Linked DNA regions of Homo sapiens: all the other regions are linked to region 3. Evidence: promoter capture Hi-C in 16 types of primary human blood cells and fetal thymus (Javierre and others, 2016). All regions are on one chromosome and are shown on one strand. The core of a region is centred on a gene start or on the middle of the fragment in contact, and the rest is flanking DNA. Distances in the headings are between cores, read along the strand shown.

What was found. Contacts are between HindIII fragments. The CHiCAGO score rates a contact against its expected background, and 5 or more counts as called.
Region 1: a contact is called between a fragment that was not itself captured here and the fragment with the promoter of NIPSNAP3A in region 3, in 10 of 17 cell types (naive CD4 T cells, naive CD8 T cells, total CD4 T cells and 7 more). The highest score is 17.5, in naive CD4 T cells.
Region 2: a contact is called between a fragment that was not itself captured here and the fragment with the promoter of NIPSNAP3A in region 3, in 4 of 17 cell types (M2 macrophages, naive CD8 T cells, M0 macrophages and 1 more). The highest score is 11.2, in M2 macrophages.
Region 4: a contact is called between a fragment that was not itself captured here and the fragment with the promoter of NIPSNAP3A in region 3, in 15 of 17 cell types (total CD4 T cells, naive B cells, endothelial precursors and 12 more). The highest score is 56.3, in total CD4 T cells.
Region 5: a fragment that was not itself captured here is called in contact with the fragment with the promoter of NIPSNAP3A in region 3 in 9 of 17 cell types (naive CD8 T cells, total CD4 T cells, total CD8 T cells and 6 more); the score reaches 15.8 in naive CD8 T cells.

Annotation. Positions count from the first base shown.
Region 1 is chr9:101,708,977-101,713,459 of GRCh38, forward strand. All of the region lies in intron 1 of GRIN3A (glutamate ionotropic receptor NMDA type subunit 3A), which reads right to left. Among named protein-coding and RNA genes, the nearest start is that of GRIN3A, 27 kb to the right of the region's middle. The HindIII fragment of the contact is 6,514 bases long and covers 1-4,483 here.
Region 2 is chr9:101,689,162-101,693,968 of GRCh38, forward strand. All of the region lies in intron 1 of GRIN3A (glutamate ionotropic receptor NMDA type subunit 3A), which reads right to left. Among named protein-coding and RNA genes, the nearest start is that of GRIN3A, 47 kb to the right of the region's middle. The HindIII fragment of the contact is 5,431 bases long and covers 1-4,807 here.
Region 3 is chr9:104,744,342-104,749,232 of GRCh38, forward strand. It overlaps NIPSNAP3A (nipsnap homolog 3A), which reads left to right and starts at 3,342. Exons shown (of 6, transcript NM_015469.3): 1 at 3,342-3,511. The coding sequence starts at 3,452. LOC107987105 (a long non-coding RNA gene) reads right to left here and starts at 3,298. Exons shown (of 5, transcript XR_007061705.1): 1 at 3,108-3,298. RefSeq lists a silencer at 3,236-3,325 and an enhancer at 3,746-3,905. The HindIII fragment of the contact is 7,745 bases long and covers 1,208-4,891 here.
Region 4 is chr9:101,599,306-101,604,234 of GRCh38, forward strand. The region is part of intron 6 of GRIN3A (glutamate ionotropic receptor NMDA type subunit 3A); the gene reads right to left. Among named protein-coding and RNA genes, the nearest start is that of PPP3R2, 6.8 kb to the left of the region's middle. The HindIII fragment of the contact is 1,138 bases long and covers 1,627-2,764 here.
Region 5 is chr9:101,728,912-101,733,567 of GRCh38, forward strand. The region is part of intron 1 of GRIN3A (glutamate ionotropic receptor NMDA type subunit 3A); the gene reads right to left. Among named protein-coding and RNA genes, the nearest start is that of GRIN3A, 7.4 kb to the right of the region's middle. The HindIII fragment of the contact is 5,344 bases long and covers 179-4,656 here.

The DNA.
Region 1 (4,483 bases), core at 886-3,385, 3.0 Mb before region 3:
ATTCTAAATGATAGTAACACACAGGCAATTTCAAAATATTCCTATGACCCTTGGCAATGGACTCACTCTTTAAACAGCCTGCTCACATTTTCCTAGCCATAACCTGTATTCTAACTCTTTGTTTTTTTTTTCTTCTCTTTTGAAATTGAATTTTTCTAGGAAGATGAGATGCTTACCCATTTCTAGAGGCCGGACATGATAAAGGAAGCTAATGATAAATATGTTAATGTGTATTTGAGGTCAAATAGGTCTCAGAAAATTCAAATGACCTTTTCTGGTAAGAAATAAGATTCATTATTTATCTATGTCACCAGCTTCAGATGATAATAAATACAGTTTCAAGGTGCTAAGGGGGTAATCTAAAGGCAGCTTTAAAAAATATACCATTTATTGAAACAGAGTACAATTTTCTGCTTATGGGACCTTTGGTAGAATACACTTGGTTTTGTGGAGGCAGCAGAGCCTGGTTATTAATGTGTCAGGAGGGAAGTTAGGACCTACGAATTCCATAGTTGATGTTGTAGCAGCTCACGCTGCCGTCTAAGTTCTCAGAAGGACCTCTGCATCTGTAGTGATTTAGAGGAGAGAGAACTGGACTTAAAATCAGAAAATTTTATTTTTTTACTTGCTCGGTAAAATAAATTACCCAACGCTCAGTTTGTTCATTTGTAATTTGGGAGAATAATGCCTTCCTCTCAAAGTTGTTTTAGGTTTTTACGTATATGCAAGGTTAAGTGACTGAAATTACTTTGCAAATTGTAAAATGCATATCAAGGTGAGTGATTATTTTTATTACACAAGTACAAAAATGTTTTAAAAATTATTATACAAGTACCCAAGGCCCCAAGGAAGTGAAACACTCTAGCCTGACTCTACACTGCATTTATTCCTTTTTCAGTTATGAAAGACTCAGAGAATGATAGATGTCATTTTATGATCTATCAACATGATGGCTTAAAGAACATTTCAAAAAGTGTTGCTTGGATGCCTTGAACGTAAACCTATTCTACATAAAATTGGTCTCTTTTACTGTTATTCTCTAAATTGTTTTTCCTGGAAATCCTGTTTTAGAGAACTCCGGGTGAATCTCAGTGATTTTGGGGTCCGGGAGAAGAAAATACAGAGATTAGATTTGAAGTATGGACAGTATCAGTTCAGTCTTTAAGAACAGGAGAGGTAATTATAGGTAAATGATCACTGGGAGTCTAGGCAGGGTAGAGATGGGTGGGTGGAAACTGGGGAGCTAAGATAATTAAGGCTCTAAGTCTCAACTATCAAAAAATCTTAAATGACAGATAGTAGCTATTTGGTATTCCAACAAATCTTTCTATTTTGGAGAATTCTTACTGAGTCTCATGCATACACACAAATTAACATAAAAATTCACTTGTTGTATAGAGAATGTCAAGTATATGCAAATACTGGTAATCTTTTGCAGACATCAGTGGCATCAATGTATATATTAAGATTTGGCAGATGACTGATGCCCCAAGTCCATATTCAAGGGTAAGAATTTAGTGTTTGGATGGAGATCTCCTCTAGTTTAGAGATCTGCAATAGGCTGATACCTTCCAATTTCCACCCTGTTCTGTGGATTCATGTTGTAACTCAGGGATTTCTATTTATGGCAAAATTATATAATCAGTTTACTCAAGTTGCTTTCCTAAGGGAGGGACGACTGAGAAAAGTCAACCTCTGGTGATGAGGTATCCCAGGTAGAAATTTTGCCAAACAATTATGGTAACATTATGTGGTACAGAGTTGACTGGCAACCAGACATGGTTTTAGGCACTCTGAATGACAAAGCAGATGGCTAAAGCAAATCATTCACATTAATAGATTTCTTCTAAAGTTTGAATTGTCTGATTTTGACTGTTTAGTTCAGATGAATTGGAAAATTGCAGTCTCCACAGCTCTGAGCAGTTATGCTATGTTTTCTCATATACATACATATAATAAAATTCAATTTATAAATTAATTGAAGAGATTAATAACAATAACTAATAACAAAATAGGACAATATAACAATATACTGTAATAAAAGTTTTGTGAATGTGGCCTCTCTCTCTTAAAATATCTTACTGTACTGTACTCACCCTCGTCCTTCTTGTGATAATGTAAGATGATAAGATCCCTATGTGATGAGATGAAGTGAGGTGAATGGCATTGGCATTGTCACAGAGCATTAGGCTACTACTGAACTTCTGACCATATGTCAGGAGGACCATCTGCTTTGGGAGATCCTGGATCATCGAGCCATGATGACATCTATGGTTGGATGTCAGGGGCAGATGATGCTGATAACCAACAGGCGGGTAGTGCATACAGCCCGGATTCACTGACCGAAGGGATGATTCACACATCCCGATAGGTCAGGGTGGGACGGTGGGAGATTTCATCATGATACTCAGAATAGCGTCCAATGGAAAACTTATGAATTGTTTATTTTCGGTTGACTATGGGTAACTGAAACCTTGGAAAGCAAAACCTTGAAGAGGGGAGACTACTGTATTCCACCCATTACGTTTCTGGTTCTGGTGGGCTTTGCCAGTAGAGGCCACTAGGGGGAGACTGCAAGACTGAAGGAAGAGAAAGGGTTTGCTGCTTCTTGTCTGTCTTTTCTGTCTCTGATTTGCTTTCTGTGGGTTACCTGACTGCTCTAGGTTCCTGTAAGCATCACCCCAGCAATACTTCTTCAACTTGTTAGTGGTTCTTTTCCAGGGCAGTGGCGGAATCTAGTGCTGTCTTTCAAAACTGGAGATAATTGATAGCGAAATGAGCATTGGAAAGCTGGACAGAGTAGGGGTGGGTGAATGGAAACTAGAGAGCTAAGATAATTAAGGCTCCAAGTCTCGACTTTCAAAAAATCTTTAATGAGAGACAGTAGCTATTTTTCAATATTTGTAGAACCACTTTATTCCGTGCCCTCGGAGATACCATCAACCAGCAGGGTAAAGGTCTGAACCTGAGCTCTTTAGGGTCCCTCCTTGGAGCTCAACGATTCCATCACCAGCTGAGCAACACCCCTTTTCCTCAGATGCCTGAATTTCAGCTTTATGGGGCTACCCCTCTAAGCCTCTAAATATTTCTATTTCCAGTCTCTTGTTCTTTCCTCAGCTCAATGAATGGCAACTGCTTGGAGAATTTAAATTCACGATATCATAAAGTTCTCCTATTATCCTTCCAACTACCTAATTGACAAGTTTGTACTTAATTAACAATTCTTTTCATTAAAATTTCACTCTTCAAATAACTGACTAAGTCTCACCAATACACTTACTATCTGATGGTTTAATTAATTACTTGGAAAACCTAGAAAGATCTTGATTTTGCACTAAATTTCTCTCTTAATGACTATCACCCAGAAGAGCCTTTTGAACTACAGAGTGCAATTCTTCCTGGACTTCACTAGCTTCAAACCAGGTCATGGGTTTCACTGTACTTCAGAGCTGCTTCAAAGTTACAGAACTAAGTGGAAGAACAAATGAGGTAGACAAGGCAGTGAGTAGGAAATGGTGGGAAAGCCTGGATGGAAATGAAATGACTGACTTCTTGTTCAACCCCAAATTACAGTGATGGATCACCATTCTAGAACTCATCCATAAGATTCCAATAAAATGCAGGAACTGATCTGATGAAGTGCCTCTCAACTTCCCAGTAAAATATCAAATAAGACACAAAAATATGAAAGCTCACCACTCTAAAAACATCTACTAATAATCAGCTTATTGCTAGAACAGAAGGATATTGCACAAACTACCAGCTAGTGGAAACAGAATAAAAAATATGAGATCGTTATTCCATGTAACAATGATATAACTAATATTCCTGGAAACACTTATTATGGACAAGGCAATTCTTAACACTTCATAGAAATTATTTCATTTAATCCTTATTAAAACTCAATGAGACAGATCCTATTATTTCTATCTTATGGGATGAGAAAAGATTAAGATTAAGATTCCTATCTTTGTGAATGAGGAAACTAAGGCATAGAGAGCTTAGGTGACTTAATCATTGCATTCCACTAGTAATTGGCAGAGATGGGATTCAAACCCAGGTAATCTGGGTCTTCTGGCTCTTAATTCCTTTAAAGACTTCCATCCCTTTCCTTCGGCCATTTAGTTCAATTGGAAAAGTCACTAGAGCTCCTCTACTGCATGGGCTCTGCTTTCTGGGGCAGTCAGAATGACATTCAATCACTTCTCCGCCCTGATGAACATTTTTATTATTTAATGTAGGCATCTCCAAGAAGAACGTGTTTGGGAGAGGTTTAATTCCCACAGGAAAAACACCATAGGAGGTAGAAGAATTAGACATTCACCCCAGCAGACATGGAACTGACAGCTGTGTTATTTTTAAATGTACTTGATTGGTTCAGATCAGTGATTCCCAACAAAAAGGGCATATCAGAAACACCTGGGAAATTTGTTACATACACAAGCTGATGCCTTCTAAGATTTTGAACCAGGAAGTCTAGGAT
Region 2 (4,807 bases), core at 1,331-3,830, 3.1 Mb before region 3:
AAAGCAATGGAAGGCAAGCTCCACATTTAGCTAGCAGGAACAAATTATTCCTAAGTGTTTTCTTGGCTTCAGCTCCCTATTCTGTTGCCAGTTTTCTTCCTAAAATACAAATATGACCATATCATTCTCCTGCACCATAACCTCCGAATCACCCATAGGACAGATTTAAAAATCAATAATATGGCTTAAGAGTCACGGATGAAATTGTTGCTTTCTTGCTAAATAGGAAGTTGAATTAGCTAATCATATTGAGCATTTAGTATTAGACAGAGAAACAAATCCAATAGGCATGAGAGAGAGAGACATGGGAGTGAAATGAAGACCCCTACAATGGATAATGATTAATTCATATAATCACACTCACCCCTACAAACAATTCTACTGAGAAATTCCAGATGTTGAAATTAATCCTTACACAAACTTGAGACATATTTCTTCAGAAAATTATTAAATGATAGTTTAGAAGCATCTAATGAGATATTATTGATTTAGCAGCCTCAGATGCAGTGTTTTCCAATTTCTCCCCATATAAGGACAAAGGCACACACATATGCACATGCATACACATGCACACACACACATACACACACACACACACACACACACACACACAAAGATTATGAAAACTTATAACACTAAAATTCAAGCCTGATAGTAAAATTTTTGTCAAAATCCAGGACAAAAATTAAACAAGACCTATTGAGTAAAATTGAAAAGGAAAATCTGTGTCTTACATATGGTTTGTTGTTTGCAAAAGAGCAAGCTCATGGCCTGAAAGAAGATATAAAGATTTTAAAAGTAATTTCCATATTGTTTTTCTCCTAAATCAGAGATCCAGAAACAGAACAACTCAAGAAATAGGAAGCCTGTCTCTATCATGCAGATAGAGTGAAACTGCCTTATAGGTACATTCAATTTATCTATATTAAAATAAACAGGCTCAGAAGAGAGAGGTGGGAGGGAGAAAATATGAATTTAAATAGTACTGATAATTCTCATTCCCTTAAATAAGTGTGCTACTTATTATATTATGGTATATTATTTATATTATCACATACTTTAATGTAGCTATATTATTTTTCATATTGTATACACAAAACCATATATGTCAAGCTAAATAGGTAATTTAAAAGATTTTAAAATGTAATTTTTCTACACTTTGAATTGAATCTTCATTTCTAGTGGAGATGAAACTCCACTCTACTCCATTAATTTTGCAGGTTTTGTTCCATCATAATCTGGTTAGACATTGTTTCAGAGCCTGAAATTTCCAAAAGAATAGGGCAGGAAATATGGCTGGGGAATGTGTGTGCTGCCATGCACTCGTAGAATGAAATCCCAAGTAAGTGCAGAGCTGCAGGGAGAGAGGAGTCACCAAGAAGTTGGTTCAAAGCATCAAAGAATCATTCAGTGGTGTGGGAGAAGATTGCTTAACCCGCTATGGATCAGACTGTAAATATTAAAGTTCCATATACAGAAAAATCAGGCAAGAGTGGTAAAAATATTTGGAAAAAGAAAATGATAGGCCTTGCTTTGGAGGATATTAGAACACATTAGAAAATGTCATTTTTATAAAGCAATAATAATTAAAACAGGGAAGCACTAATAGGTACTAATAGGTACTAATGGAGTATTAAATTACTGTGTTATAAATTAAAATAACAAAGAAATAGGGAAGGAAATAGGATATTAGAATTTGAGAAAATAGATTAGTTAGAAAAATAACAATTAAATTTCTCATTACATCATATATTAAAAATATGTTCCAGGCCATTAAAGAGCTAAAAGTACAATATCAAATCATTAAAAGATAGACCAAAAGGTAAATATGTATCAGAAATTACAATAATAAAAGGAAAACATTGAATTATCACAGCACACCGTATTTTTAGTTTTAAACACCTATCATAAAAAATAAAGGAACATGAAAAACAAGAGAATATTAGTAATAAATTGGGTAGACAAAGAGTTAATGTTCACCAAATGTATAAAACATTTACTAGTCAATAAGGAAATAGAAGCCTTTACTGAACACTTATTCAATCATGAAAAATAATTTTAAGCTCCTACCTTGAGCCATGACCTCTGCATGGCATTTCCTGTTGTCTCTATGGTGGATGAGAGATAGACAATATGTAACTAACTATATGAATAAACACTTCCTATAACTAGAAGTCATGAAAATTACTGTAAATGAAATAATAGGGTCCAGCAAAACTAGGAGAGGAAGAAGAAACTAGGAAATATTAATTTAGTAATTATGATTTGTAGGGGTTGGGAGAGACGAGTATTTGTACTATACAAGCGTTCTTTAATTGGGACTTAAGAAAAAAACGAGATGTATTTGAAAACAATTGATCACTATATAGGTAAATATATATAATGATTTATAAAAGTAAACACATTTAACTAAAAATGTAGTCTCATTTTGACCATCCATTCTTCTTTGACTGGGTACTGTCTTCCTAGTCTCAGATAAATGGTTGGAGCCACCATCTGCTTCTATATTTCCTGTGCGATTCTGCATTGTCCTCTTCAGCAGGTTCTACAGTGTCCTTAAGTTCTAAGTTTTCCTTGCTGGTGGGGCCACTGTCTTCTTCAGCAGTTGGGCTTTTCTGTCCTCTTTTGAGAAGCAGTATAGAGGTTAGGACTTAGTAGTCAGGGCAACCTATGCTTAAGTTCTGTCTCCATGATTTATGCACCATGTGGCCTTTTGTAAGTCATTTAGTATCTCTGAGTCATACCTCCCTCATCTCTAAAATGAGGACAATGCTACTTCCTAACTTATGGATTCATTTTGAGAATTAAATGTAAGAATGTGAGAATGCATGGAAAGTGCCTGGCGCAGAGTGAGGGCCCATAAGTAGTAGTTGTTACAATTGACTTACAGAGTTTAGTCACTGTTGGAAGTGACTGACTGCAATACAGTATTTTTCTTTGCTTTTGCTCCTTCTCCTTTTTCTTGTCTATTTTCATACAATGGTCTCAGCAATAGATATCTTTTACAAACATAAATTACACCAACTTCTCAGCAGGAAAACAGAAGTGCTCTGTAACATATTGGGAGAGGCTGTTTATTTGGGAGATACTATGTTTACAGTAGAGTCCTCCCCACACCCCCAACTCTTCTTTCTTTAGTAACAAGCTCCAGTACCAGTCAGCATGCAAGTTAAGGAATTCTTGGTGCCAACTCCTGGAGATCCCTCATCAGTCTTTGTTCTCTCAGAGAGCACAGATTCTGCTAGTTTGTGGATTAGTAAGAGTTTCAAAAACAGGATTGCCTGCAGGAAAGAGTTTGCCACAGAGCTTTGAGATATTCCCTGACTGAATAAAAGAGGTGATGGGGCTGGGTTTAAGAGAAGAGAAAAGATGCAATTCTCTCAGCTCTTTCCTGGGCAAGGGGAACCAAATGAGCTAGGTCAAAGCCCAAAAAGCTCAAGTGAACATAATGTTTCCACTGCTTTTACCAGAGATGAAATTTCCTTCCTTTCATCCGTCTGCTGATTACTAAATACATTTGAGAGGCTCAGAACAGGCTTTCTACACAGCTATCGCTTCTCCTCAGCCAAAGAGGCTGCAGGAGGTTTTCTGTTTCTCATTATCTCACATCTCATTTGACCTATATTATACAGAAGACTTTTTCTTCTGAAAATTAAAGATTGTTCCTTTAGCAGCCCAGGCTTTTAAATAAATTAACTATTCTTATGGTTACATTAAGGACACAGACAAGCATAAGGTGTAGTCCCTGCCCAGAAATTGTAATTTAATAATAATTATACAAATGAAGAGCTAATACCTACTGATGTCCCTAGTGCCTTATGCATATTATTTTATTTCATCCTCACAATGGCCTCATGAGGTGACTGCAATGATCATCCCCCTTTAATAGAAGACAAAATCAAGGTTCAGAAAAAGTGAGTAATTTTCCCAAGGTGGCACAGCTACTAAGAAATAGAGCTTGGGCCAGGTGTAGTGGCTCATGCCTTTAATTCCAGTGCTTTGGGAGGCTGAGGTGGTAGATCACCTGAGGTCATGAGTTTGAGACCAGCCTGGCTAAGATGGTGAAACCCCATCTCAGCTAAAATATATATATATATATATATATATATATTGCACGGAGGGGTCACACGTGCCTGTAATCCCAGCTACTCAGGAAACTGAGGAACGAGAGTTGCTTGAGTCTGGAGGCAGAGGTTGCAGTGAGTCAAGATTGTGCCACTGCACTTCAGCCTGGGTGCAGAGTGAGACTCTGTCTAAAAGAAAAAAAAAATAGAGCCTGAATTCAAAACCACAATTTGTTGGACTCAAAAGCCTGTGCTTTTACCTATTATTCTATACTGTTCCCTCTACTTGATAAAAGCAACATGTGCAGTAGATCCTTGACATTTGTAGATTTAATAATTTCCAATTATTTGCCAGTAATCCTAAAGGCCCATGGAATAAAGCCACTTGTAAGGTGTCTGAGGCATGAGTTAGAATGACATTCCCTGTGTTTCTGGGCCATGGGAGTCAGGGAGTCTCCAGCCTGCTGCCCAGTGTGCACATGGCTTCCCAGCTGTTTTCTTCGCTCATCCTCCCATATGTAGCAATTCTTGTGAAATGATGAAACTTGTATTTCTTCATGAACAACACTTTAAAAAAGAATGATAGTTGCATAATTAATGACATCAGTTTTGTGTTTGGTAGAGTAAGCAAGTTTGGAAAAGCTCACCTAAAGTTTTCATTTCAATTCTACTGAATTTCATGGTCAAAATTATATTCTAGACTATGTTCAACACCACATATGGGGATGTCAACAAAGATCTTA
Region 3 (4,891 bases), core at 2,092-4,591:
GCCCTAATAAAGAAGCATCTCTATTTCTTTTTAAAAAGTTTTTTATATTTCATTATTCTAGTTCATTTTTTTCATATTTGATTTTGTATTTTGATTATTCTAGTTCACTTTTTTCACTGTATTTGTTTTCTTTGCAACCCTATGTATTTGTTATACATTTAAAAACATTTGGGATCCACAGGCTCACAAGATTTTGAAAGGATTTTAAGACACAAAAAAAGGTTAGTAATACCTGCCCTAGAGAAATTCTTCTGGCGGAACCAGGAGACATCTACAAATAAATTCAAACAGCTTTGTTTATAATAGTCAGATGGACAAAAAAACAAGGTATTTTCATGTAATAGAATAGCATACTAAAGGGATGTGAATTAATTATTACAACTGCATTAATGTGGTTGATTTGCAAAAGCCTAAAGTTATAGCTAACAGTTATGTAACAAAATAATAAAATTAGTTAATAAACAATCTAAAACAGGCAAACCAAAGCAATATACTCTTTAGAGTTATATACAAATGTAGTTGAATTATTTCAGAAAAATCAATGTAATAACACAAAATTTGGGATCATGGTTACTTGAGGGAATTGGAGGAGAGGGTTGTAAGAAGAATGTGACCAGGAATGAACATGTATTGAGCTTCTGAGTTGCTGGCAATACCCTTTTGCTTAAGCCTTGTGGCAAGAGCACAGACATTCACTTTATTATTCTTCTTTAAAGTGTACAGATATCTCATATACACTTTCATACCTATAATAAATGTTTGATATTACCTTCTTAGATAGGTCATCTCTGTCTATCCAATCCAAAATAACTACCCAGTTACTCTATATCATACGAGCCTATTTTAATAATCTAGTTTTTTGATAGGATTTTTCTAGCTTTGAACTGTCTATCCTTTGGACTATTTGTCAGAATTTCAGGATATGCAACAATAATTTTCAAAATATTTATCCTATACATTTTCCAGGCAGTTTAGGGATATGCTTTTTAAAATAGCCACAGAACAATATTACATTTTAAATTCTGTCTAAAAGCTACTTTCCACTGCAAATCTAAAATTACCTTAATAATCACATATCTTTTAAAAATAAATGGTAAACTGAACTGGTTTTACAATTGGGCTTCAAAGTCTGTGCCACTTCGTAGCAATGAAACTGAGAAAATTCTCTTTTCAGACTTCACCTTTCTCACTTAAAAAACGGAGATAAAGCTTAACTCACAGTATTTGAGGATATTTAAAACCTGTGAGAAAGAGAATAGGAGAATATTTTAGCTACTTAGAAGCACTTAACAATGTTTAGCCATCTCTCAATTGTAGCCATGAATTTTGCCCCTATCTGTATTTTCCTCTTGGAAATTCCTCTTGGAAGTTCCCTGTATCTTTCTGCTGGATGGATGCAGTTAATGATGAGACTAGGGAATGGCAAAGCCACCGGGTAGAAGCCTGGCTCCCTAATTCACTAAGTATAGAAGAGCTACCTGCCAACTAGAAAAACCCACTTTGTATTCTTATAAAAAATAAACTCCTATAGTGTTTGAGTAATAATACACTTTTTTGAGTGTTGATTTACAAGAGCTATTTAATCTACCCTAATTAATATATTATTGAAAGATACTACCAAATGCTGAGTGTTCTGGCCTTCTTCCCTCCTCAGCCTCAGGAAACTGGCAGCAAGGCTTTTCTCACACAGATAAGATACTGGAAGTTTCCCTTCCCTAACACTGACTACACAGATAAATAACTTGCAGATAACAGTTTGGGGGGAGGGGATACAGCCTTCAGTGAAATACCCAGGTCAGATCACCTCACAGTGAAGCCCACTATTTGAAGAGATTCACCTGTGCTTACAGTGCTTTTAACATGTTTTTCTCACTCCAAAATATATTTTTAATGTAAACATCAATAAACGCAGGAAGGAAAGTGTATTTTGAGGGAGTGGTATGAAGAAACCTAAATCCTAAATATCCAAGTCAATAGCTAGAATCCTGACCACTTTTAGAATTCCACTAGCACCTTTATTCGTATCTTACTTTATTTTTCTTTATATTATTTGACAATCCCTGATATATTTACTCTTCCTTTTTTTATCTGTTTCCTCCATCCTGGATGTTCCAAGAGGACGGGACTTTGAATTTTGCTCAATTCTGTACCCCAGTTTCTGGAAAAGTGCCTGGAACATGGAAGGAATTTAGTAAATATCTGTTGAATAAGTAAATGGATTGGCAATTACAGGGTTTAAAAAAAAAGGTCTAAGAAAATAATTTACTCATATAGATCCAGTCCTGATACAAATGATTTTTTTAGTCTTGCATGGTTACAAATAGATGTCTCTCTTCTAGAAAAACTGAGGCAACCCTTCCGAAATAACTAATTTTAAAAAGTCTCCCTTCCTTTGAACAGACAATTCCAAAGCTCTTCCACAAGGCACAACCAATACAACCCAGGTCATGGCCCTGCAATCCCTCCCTAGTCCTCATGATGTAAGCAATATTACATTAATGTTTACAATAATGTAATTATTAGCAAGAATAATGTAAACATTAATATAGATTACTGTAAATTAATAGTGTAATTAATTACTGTAAATTAACATAAGCATTATTAGATGCAGGAAGACAAGTGAATTTGGGGGCAGTGGCATCTATGAGACATAAATCCTCATCTGCCACAGAAGGAAGTCAACACATACTATCCATAACTGAAAATGCAATAAACAGCAGAAAACACTACTTACTTAAAAATACAGAAACAAGCATTAAATGAAACAGCTTGAAATGTTGAAGGTGGTTACTCTGGGAACCAACACTCCCGGACTGGGAGGACTAGACCAGGGTATGTTTAACTTTGACTTTTTCATTTCAGGCTCGATGCTGCCATTTCTCTGAGCTCGTGGAAAATTTAATCTAAATCTTAATTAGGAGCCTTCTAAGATGGAGAACACATTCATTGCAGAGAGGTCAGGCTCAAATACACGTCTATCACAACATCTAAAACTTAACTCGGAAAAAACCTCCACGATTTTAAATACAAAGCACTGCACATGCACGCACTCAACACCTCTCCTTCTTTCCCCATGGTCAACACACCCACAACCCCTGCACATTTACCAATCTACACAACTGAGCACTGGAGCGAATGAGGTGAGTGAGGGCCCAGAAAGTTGAAGCAGGAACGATCCGAGCCTTCAGTTAATCCTAACGTCACCTCTAACGTTTGGGGTAAGAACGTTTCAGGAAACCAAGGGGGAACCAACGCTCAGCACAGCAGAGAAAGACACCAAGCTACGGGACCCGCCGCGCCTCCCGCGCCGGGGTGGAGCTGACCCCGCCGAGCCCCGCCCCAGCCTGCGTCTGCCAATGATCCAGGAGCCGCTCCTTTCCACTCGGGAAACCTTCAGAGGAGTCTCAGAAAGGACACGGCTGGCTGCTTTTCTCAGCGCCGAAGCCGCGCCATGCTCGTCCTCAGAAGCGCCCTGACTCGGGCGCTGGCCTCACGGACGCTGGCGCCTCAGGTACCGGCCACGGGGGTACCCAAGCCTTCACCCGACGGGAGGGGAGGGGCGGGGCGGGGAGTGTTCCGGGTACGTGCGAGCAATGCGCATGCGCTCTCCGCCACGCGCGCCCAGACCTGGGGCCCCGGTGAGGTTCTAGCGTGAGCCCCGGAACCCCAAGACAGGGGTACCCGGAACGCGCGTGAGGAGGAGGCCGCTGCTAGGGGAATACCCCCAGCCGGGGTCGTCTCGCGGGCAGTGGTGGTCAGAAGGCTTTTCTAGCCTGGATGCCACACCCACCGGGACACTCCCATGGCGCCGGCTGTTTCGTTTTTGCTGCCCAGCTATGTCGCGGCTGCGGCCCAGCGAGCGCTCCCATGTTGTCACCTGGCGCTGTGGAGCCGCGGGTGGAGTCGTAGCTTTCCAAGCCACCGCCCTCTCTAGACATCAGGTTGAAGGAGGGAATTGTCAACCAGCCGCTTGCCACGGAACCGGCCTCCCCCTTTTAAATGAAGCACACAACTTCCGAGCATTTCGCGGAGACCCTTGAAGAGGAGGCCCAGGGTCCCGGTGGGGCTGGACCCTGCCCGCCACCCGCGCTTCGTGTGGTCGCTCCCCCAACCAGGCGGGACCGGAGCCTCCTATCAAACCGGACGATGACAGACAGACTCTTTTAACCTTAGATGAGAAATGGACAAAATGGAGCTTGTGATTCTGCCCTAACTTTCGGGAGTGGCCTATTCTGTGGCTTCAACCTAGAAATTTCTTTTCCTTTTGATGTTTAGGACTTTACTCCTTTCTGAAGGGGCAGGATGGGAAGGGGATTAACCTGTCCTAGAGACAGACTGAGGAGCACTAAAGAAGAGCAGCTCATGTCCATTCACCCCGGGTTAACAATGCAGTTTTTACCCTAATGATTCTCCAGTGGGGCAGGGCCAGGAATGACGTCCTTATGGCATGATTCCAAACTTTAAGTTTTTAGAAATGTCCATCAGTTGTTCTCTTTTAAGTGAAGTGGAGGTCGTTGCTGGTGGGAATGATCCCTAACTTGGAGATAAGGGAGGATGGACGACTCATGATTTCTGCCCTAGCAGCTAAAAGTCATCCCTGCAACAAAATTCTTAACTCCCATCCGGCTCCCCCACCATACCCGGCTCCCCTGCAGTCTTCCTTCTCTGGCACCACCTGTCCACATCTCTCTCCCTCTCTCACTGTAGGTTCCCTACTGTATATTAATACTGCCCAAAATTGTAAAAATGTGTACCTTTGATCAACTATTTTATCCTCCAAATACAAATTCCTCGAATCAACCTGAAATCCATTTGTCACAAATGCCCCATTGGCCTATCTCCTGATATATTTTATTATAATAATTTTGAAATTATGGATACTAGGCACTTG
Region 4 (4,929 bases), core at 946-3,445, 3.1 Mb before region 3:
TGAAATAATTCAGGTGTACAAGCAGAACCATTCTACTCTGTGCTGTAGAGGAGGTAACATTATGCTAGATCTGGAGTTTTAGTCAATGTGAACTTGAGTTCCCATTGTTCTACCTTTCATAAACTATGTAGCTCAGCATTATTATGGGACTCAACACCATTGTTTTGATTTTCTCTGTAAATGATTCTTAGTAATTTCCATGGAAAACACTGTTTGTTACTTTTCTGTTCATCACTGTGGATTGATGTGGACTGTAGGACATTCACTGAAGCAAGTAAATTAAAAGGGTTGACTAACTGTTTTGGAAGAAACCAGGAGCCTTGATGGCACCTCTATTTCAGCATGTCATTTTTTTCCCTCAAAAGTTTTTAGATAAAGAAATATTGAGTAGGTCACATGTAAAAATAACTGACATTGGAAAATCAAACCAACGGAAATGGAAATGAGACCTGAGGTTCATATAAGGCTTCATTTTTCAAGCCAGTCAGGAGACCAGGTCACACAGCTGTTCTAGAAGCTATACAGGTGGTCCTTGACATTTGGTTGGAAGCTCTCACCTTTCTGTAGCATTGCCGGTCACCATATTTAATATCTAAGCGTACTGACGTTAGCCACAGTTTAGACTGTGGAACTACTAGCTCGAGTTTAAACTGTTTTTGAGCATCAGGTTTGTCATCTGTTTGGTTTTCTTTTGTAATACTGAAATGGTGTTTAATGAATTTTGGCATGTATGGTTTTAAATCAAAGTTTTGCTATTTAACAACTTTGTGACCTTGGGCAGAGTTACTTATCTGAATCTTTTCACTCATCTGTAAAACAAGGATGATGATTACTAACTCATAACATCACTTTCAGGATTAAATGAGATAGATTATAAGAAGAAGGGTGCTCAATGCCTATCACATAGTAGGTACAGGAATGGTAGAGATTATAATTATTGCCTACTTTAGGCTTGCTTAAAAACTCAAGTAGACTGTATGCATACATGCACACAGATATACTCAGCTATTTATTTGTTTTCTCAACAAATAATTATTGAGGATCTACTATGTGAGAAGAATATAATACTGACCTAAAGTGGATACTTTTCTTGTTGTCCCTGTTCTCCTGGAGCTTACAGTTTTGATGGGAAGATGGACATTAACCAAATTATCATGTCCATAGATGTAAAGGAGCACCTGCCTTGAGTGTTACAGATGAGAAGTACATGGTACCAGGAGAGTTTGGACAACAGAAAACTTTTACTGGGGAAATGATGACTGATTTACAATCTCAAGAAGCAGAAGAAGTTAACTAGATGTTCTGGGAAGGAATGAGTGTTCCAGGTAGAAGAAACTCCATGTGCAAAGAGGCCCTAGGGCAGGAGGAACAAAACAAGTAGGAGGAACTGAAAGAATGCCAGTGTGACTGGAGTAGGGAGGTCAAGGGAGAGCATATGGAGCATACCGGAGTAGGGAGGTCAAGGGAGAGCATGGTATTGGACGAAGTGATAAGATGGTTTGACCATTCCCCATACACTGAAGAAAAGACAACATTTACTCAATTATTCTTTATAGGGCATCATTTATTCAATCATGTTTTAACATGTAAAGCATTGGGACATTCAGAGATGGTCTTTGCTCAGAAAGCTTGCTGATCAGTGAGTGAATTGAGGCATTAAAGAATTATAATTAATAATACAAGATGGACAACAAAACATGTCATCAGAGAGGTAAGGGAAAAGAACTATAAGAACTCAGAGAATTGAGAAATTACTTCTTGCTGGGAACAATAGAGGAAGACTTTTTTCTTTCTTCAAGAAGTATTTGATCCTGAGGGAGAAAAGGGAACAAGTACCATAATCACAGAAGTGGGAAAGAGTACAGGTGTAGATATTAGCAAGTTGCTTATAATGGCTGAAGTACTTGAGCAAAGTAGCAGAAGATGAGCTAGACAGAACCAGATGAAGCAGGGTTTTGAATGTTTGGCTAAGACATTTAGTCTCTACCCAGTAGGGAAAGCACACGTTTTATCAAAAGAACAACTTAATCACAATTATATTTTGGAGAGATTAATCTGGCATTATGGGTAGATTGAATAGGACAAGAGACCAGTATCTGGGAGAGCAGCTAGGAAACAATGACATCTACAAATGCTTGTCTAGAAGAGCCTGAGCTGGGATGCAAGAGGCACTAGAAGTAAAATGTGGAGTGTATTAATTATTTTGCAAGAGCTGTTGTAATGAAGCAGCACAAACGGGGTGGCTTAAACAACAGACATTTATTGTCCCCTAGTTCGGGAGGCTAGAAGTCTGAAATCAAGGAGTTGGCAGGGTCATGCTCCCTTTGAAACCTGTAGGGCAACCCTTGCTTGCCTCTTCCTAGCTCCTGGTGGTTTGTGGTCATCTTTGGCCTTCCTGACTTGCAGATGCATAAATCCATTCTCTGCCTTCATCATCACATGGTGCTCTCCCTGAGTGTCTGTCTTTGTGTGATAGATGGCTTCTGACAAGGATGCCAGTCATACTGGATTCGGGGTTCACTCTTGCTGCAATATGACTGCATCTCAGCTCAACCAAACATGTCTGCAATGACCCTATTTCCAAACCAGAACACATTCTGAGGTATTGAGAATTAGGACCTCAGAACCTCAATATCTTTTTTGGGGGACACAATCCAACCCATAACACCTAGGCTGAAGTCTTATTGGACAGAAGGACAGAGGGAAGGAGCTCAGAGGAGGCCCCAGATGTGCGTGCATTGGCTTCCCTGGCCAGCTAGCCCTAAGCTTTCATGTTGCAGGAAGCCACCTATACTGTGTGAGAAGAGGGGCATCTCTATAAAGGCTCCAGGGCTCTCTCATGATGTTGCCTTCTCATCCAACACGTCCTGAAATTCTACCAACTCCCACAGCCGCATGGGGAGGAATTGTCCTCAGATACCCTGGAGGAAATGTCAGGGCAATTTCTCACAATTTTAGACTTGGTTTTTGCCTTTTGTGAGAAAGAAAAAAGATGGCTTTTGCAGTATTTTGTAACAACTCGCATCAATAGCCACTAGATGGCAATCTTCACACATTTCCATGCTTTCTCCGCTTTCTTCAAACCCGAATCCTCAAAGCCTGGAGGCAACTCCTCTCTGCACAGGGAATAGAGGTGAGTGAGGAGTCCCATTTCCTGTGATCCCCCACAGACTTTAGTGCATGGAAGTCTAAAAAAATGGAAGGAAGACTGTCTCTCACAATAGTCCTAATCAGTTTTAGCACCGTTCATACCTTTTAGTTGCATAGTAAATAGCATTTCATAAATATTCATGAGTTTGCCGAATTTAACCAGGGGAAAAGCAAGAACTCTTAACAGTATGTGGTCTTGGGTGTAATTTATGCCCAAGTATCTCTGGCATATAAAAGCGGGGACTCTTATTCCGAGAGGTCTGTTTACTTGGTCGTTAGCAAGGGTGAAGGAGACACTTGCTGAAATTAGTTTTCCTTCTCTCAGAATCCTAATTTGTGTTATTTATAGTAGCCAGAAAGCAACAGAGAAGCAGCCCTAATCTTGTGATGATACGGAGGGAGGGGAAAACAAGACCAGAGAATTGTAGGTCTTGGGCCTGTTCACACAGGAGCCTAACTTCGAAATACAATTGACTACATGCAAAGACCAAGTTACCATTGTTTCCGTAAAGATCTGTTTTAAGTGCAGTCTAATGGTTTGTATAAAGCATCTTCACTTTTTCCCACTCAGACACTGAGCTAGAGGAAAGAAAGAACACAACACTACAAAAGTTAGTTAAACCAGCAATTTGAAAAGTAGAAAATTCCAGAATCATGCATTTCTCATTTTGAAATAAAAAATTATTTGGTTCTATAACATACGTAAGCAATACATAAAAGAGTGTTTATCTCGGAGTTAGAAGATGCTTGTAATGATAAGATGCTCCTGCTTTTTTCGAGATGGGACCAAGATGGGCCTAAGAGGGTGGGTGCACCAACTGTAATTTCTTGTCTATGCTTATTATTCACCAAATATATGTATTTTTTCTGCGTGCATGGTTCTATAATCAGGGAAGGAGAGAACATTTGTCAAGCCAGGTGTTCGCCATAAACGATCTCATTAAATATATTTCACACTTTCAGTCAGGCCCTATTATTATTCCCGGGTTTGGAGGAAGATCTGAAGTTTTGGAAGTTGCACAGCTTGCGTAGACACACAGTGGTGGAGCTGGGAGTCAAATCCTGGTATGTTGCTCCCAGAGCTGAAATTCTTCTGTATTCTAGACTGCCTTCCATATAAGACTAGAAAAGATGTCCCTGCCTTTGAGGAGGTGGTAGGGAAGCTACAAGCCCGAGCACAGGAAAAGTAAAGGCCTATAATTTACTTGTGGGTTTACCTGTGACTGGATAACAAGCGGGCCAAAGAAAGCAGCCACCTGTAATTTTAGAATCCCTCGGGAAGGGGCCCTATTAACAGGGCATACAATTCTGTCAATCCAGTATGATTGGGTGCAGTGTCTTCGAAGGGCAAGGCCAAATTGCATTGCTTACAATTTCACGCCTCAGTGTTTTACTCTGGTTTTGCCTGGAGGCTTCTTCCGCTACAGGGGTTACCTCCTCCAGGAAGCCTGCTTTGATTCCTTCTAGCTCTTCCATGTGTGAATTATGGCCTTGTTTGTGTCACGGCTTACCTTATGTCTTCATTTATTGCTGCCCCTGTGGCGGTGTGGAATTGGGTATTTTTCACAAGTCTCTCTTGAGCTCCTATGAGCTCTCTGCCTGTGAGCTCTGTATTCATCTCTGCATTGGCTGCACCCAGCATGGGACATGGTACGTGGGAATTCAACACGTTTGCTAATGGATGGATGGGAGAAAGGAAGAGAAAGAAAAGGAAGGAAGGGAAGGAGGGAGAAAGAGAGAAAGAAAGGGAAGGAATGAAGGAAAGGAAGGAAAAGAAAG
Region 5 (4,656 bases), core at 1,601-4,100, 3.0 Mb before region 3:
TACTTTCCCTTAATCTTTGGGTTAATGTAAGCCATATTGTTACTGTGATACAGATGAAGCCCGTATGAAAAAGGGGAGACTGCTGAACCTTGAATCCACGTCCAGGTAGACTCTGCCCTTTCTAACAAGAATCCCCAAATACCAACTGGGTTGTACTTAGCAGTGAGTGGAATCACCAAGCTTAACCTTTCTCGACATTTTTCTCCAGATGCAAAGTGTATAAGCTGAAATGGAACCTGCCTTCCAAGGATAAGGTGGGCCAGATCCCTTTCTATCTTTTTGTCACCTCCTCCCTGCATAAGTCTGTGTGGGCAATTGTATTCATTTCTTGTTGTTGCTGTAACAAACTACCAAGAACTTAGTGATTTAAAACAACACACACTTATTCTCTTATTACTTGTGACTAGAGGTCATAGTCTGAAATATGTTTTGCTGGGCTAAAGTCAAGGGTGGCATTCTTTCTGGAGCCTCTGAGGGGAAAACCCATTTTCTTGCCTTTGAGTTTCTAGTGACTGCCTGTATTTGTTGACTTATGGCCTCTTCTCCATCTTCAATGTGTGTCACTCCAGTCTCCGCTTCCTTTATCACATTGTCACATCGCCTTGTCCTCTGACCTTGACTTCTTCTGCCTCCTTCTTATAAGAATCCTTGTGATGACATTGAGTACACCTGGATAATCCAAGATACCCTTTCTATCTCAAGATGCTTAACATAACCACATCTTCAAAGTCCTTTTGGCCATAAAAAATAACATATTCACAAGTTTTGAGGATTCAGATTTGGAACTCTTCCAGGTACTCAGCCCTACCACACCAAAATAAGCTCACTCCTGTTTCATAAGCTCATATCTGTTGTCCTCCATCTCTTCTGCCACTTCTTTCTTTTGTTTGCTTAGATGGAAGATCAAGATTTAGAATTAAGAAATGCCACACAAACCTGAAGCCCAAGTCGTATGTCCCAACTCAATTTTTTCTAAAGACCTATGCAGCAGGGCACTGGGCATTAATGCATTTATTAATAAAATGAAACTGTCATTTCTGTTCTATTGTTCCCTGAGTTTAGTTCCTCAGAGCCTCCTATGAGAAGTTATAGCAATAGTTAGGAAAGACTTATGAGTTCCTCACTAAGACCACCTAATAGACCAAAACATGCTTCTTCTTAACCTTGATGTAACTGCTGCAAAACTCCAACCACCCTGAACCCATATAAAGGAGCAACTAGGTAAAACTGGACTTCAAAGTTCACTTCTTTGCTGACCTACTTTGCACACACTTAAATTGCGGGTACACTTCAGTGAACCAGAACTCTAAGTGGGACTTCAAAACAGCAGATTTCTTCATTTTTCTCAGGGTTATTTTGCTGGAGCTGGAAGTCCTAAGCCTGAATATTATAGACACATTGCGAATGCATAATAAGGTAGAATATTTGAGTTCTTTTTCTGATTAGTTTTTATGAATCTTGCCACGTCAACACTTTATGCTAAAAGAACAATTATCAACATCATAAGAACACACTGCTCTAGGTACATATGGTGCAGTCCTCACCATAAACTTATAAGATAATCACATTTTATGACTTAATAAATTGAAACATGGAGACATCAGGTATGTTTTCCAAGGTAGGATGTCTAAAAAGTTGTACAGCCAAGATTCTAACATAGCTCTGAACTTCTCAAAAATGTAATCTCTTAACTCCCACCTTATATTTCCTCCATCATATGTTATAATTATCTCATTTACATTATAATGGTAATAATATTTTTCTGGCTCTCCTCACAAAGTAACTGTGAGGAAAAAATTATAAAAGAGATGAGAGAGGGCTTTGATACATTTAAACATACACTACAATTTATTCTTTCTAAAATATGTATTTTCATACTGAAGTATTGAAAGTCTAGATGAGAAAGTATAAAGACAACTTATCTTTTTTCTCTTATTATTTTTTAATTCTGTAGGTAAAAATGATTATTTTTAGAAAAATAGATGCATGAATAGAGAAAAATGTAGATTTTCACCCTCTATAATCCCTGTTAAGATTTTTATAAACAAAGTTCTAGACTTCATATTTTACAGGAACAAGGTCACACTTTACATACATTTTTGTAAAATTTTTCTATCTTTCTGTGTCAATAAATATATCCTCATTTTGAATGAGTACATTGTACTCCGTTAAAAAATGATTCAATTAATTACATTTCCATCATTTTGAACATTATTATATAATATGCTTTTAATAGTCCAACCTGGAAGTAGATACTTCTCTCTTTTATGCCTTTTCTTATGGGATATTACAAAAGCTGTGATGGATCCAATCTGTTCTTTGGTTGAAGGCTGACAAATAGACGAAGTTAAGAAGGTGCTATTAGTCTGTTTTTCTTCTGGATGGCTTCTCACTTCCTACAATGCATAGTTCTTTCTATTTCTCCATATTTTGTCTATACATAGTCATTTGCTTTACAGGGCTGTTAGGAGATTATTTAAACATATTTGTGAAAAAGCCTTGAAAAACATAAATGCTGCAAAAATATAATATGATTAAAATTCTTCCTAAATCTATGCTTCAAATGAATAACGATGAGGTGTAATTCATCCTGACTGAAAAAGGAGTCATCCTGCTTAATTCTCTACCACATGAACCCTTGCAGGCTCATCTCCATTAACAAACCAGCCCTGGCCAATCAGACACCAGCCTTTCAATGTCAAAGTTTACTCCTCATGACATAATGCCAGCCAGGTCAGGGATCAACCCACTTTTTCAAGGCAGGAGATCAAATACAGTTGACAGTCTCCCTGAAAGTGCATGAATCTTACACAATTAAATAAAATATCTGAGAATTTGGCTGAGGTGTCAGGTTGAGGAAAGGAGAAGGAAATGGAGAGAGTTGGCTTACTCTTAGCTCACCTCTTCCCCATTGCTCTTTGCTCCTGTGATCTCATAGAGAAAATATCAGCAAAAGACAACTGAGAGGTTAAAAATTTCTATGAGTTTGTCATTCAAACATTCACTCAAAAAGTAATATGGCAGATGCTAAGAGATGTTCTTTCTTCTTGCCTAGTTTTATGGATTTGGCATCATATTTCTGGTGCTACATAGGTCCTCTATTCTTGTGTATATGTGGCAATAGCCAGAGCTAGCAGAAAAAAAGACAATGAGATTTCTCATCTCTATATTTACTGTTGCCACTAAAATGAGCAATACTTTCCTAAGAGAGTATACAGTTATCTAGGGCAATGGGACTCAAAGTAGCTGGTTTGTAAATTATATATCCATGATGAGATAAGGAGCTTAGGTCAGTATGAATCAACACACTGCTTTCCTTATCAAGAAAGTTTGCTATGAAAAAATTTGGATGTTTGCTTTGTGGTGTAGTTGGCGGAATAGGAGTGAGAGTGGGGTAGACTCTGTATGGTCATAATTTCCTGAATGATAGTTTGCCTATAGAAAAAACTTATGAGCAATGTGAAGGACCAACATTTCTCAAATATCTTGGGCATCTTAATGATATTTCTATGGCAGGACTTAAGGCTCTAGAAGCTGTGTTAGATGTGCCATAGGTTAAAAGTTGCTGGTAATACAGAAACAGTACTGTGGCATGTCTTCTTTTTCCAGGCAAGTGTGCAACCTACTTAGGAACCTAGTTTTTTGTTTGTTTGTTTATTTCTAAGCCCACTTTTTTTTAAGAGAAAAAAATGAGGGAGAGGGTAAAGAGGAAGGTGTAAGGGGAATGCAAACATTTTACATGTGAATCATATCTCATTTTGATTAGTAATTTCGAAAAGAAAATTAGTTGAACTTTAACACTTAAGTGATTCTTACCAGATAATGACCAACACCTCTCCACTAGTTATTTGGGTAACACTATAACTTTTCCAAAGTACTTTTACTTTCTCATTTGATTCACAACATCTTTGTCAGATTGGTAAAGTACCTTCTTTTGATCTACACTTCTGATAAGTGTAGATGCTCAGAGATAGTCACTTGCCCAAAATTACATGGCTAGTGAGAGATAGATTGGGAACATCTGCAACGAAAGAGGCAGATTGGGAACATTTTGGCCACTATTTCATATGCGTTTCATTACATTGTGCTCTTTTAACTATTGTGGTTGGAATTTGACTGGGGGGTTATTTATAAAATAAAATCTAATGGTACAAAATCCATGGTGCCTTCTGCAGCACCAGAAGATAAAACACGAGGAATTAGAAATTGGCATCAGTCTTCAGATACCTCAGCTGATTCGATCATAAATTAACTCTAAGATATAATGGTCAGACAAAATCAAGAGCAAATATATTCTTCATGGATTAAGTGATACTCTTCTGGCAAGCACAAAGTAAAGCGGGAGAGACAAACTAATTGCTCAATAAATGGTGCCTGCTAGTCTCCTTTGCTCTACTTATCTAGAAAAGCGAATACATATTGTAAGTAAATAACTAAATTAAAAAATACTTCCAAGTTAATGCCAGGTCTCTGTTCTTCAAGAGGAACCTGTAAAAGATCACTGCTTTAAAAAGTTTTGCATCACTTGACATTTAATTTGAAATTGTTTATCTTTAAGTCAGCAACAATTAGATGCGACTATCAGCTATTCATCATGAATTGCAGAATACATTTCCCCCAGAGGAGAAAGAGCTGTGATTTGCATAGAGCAAGTCA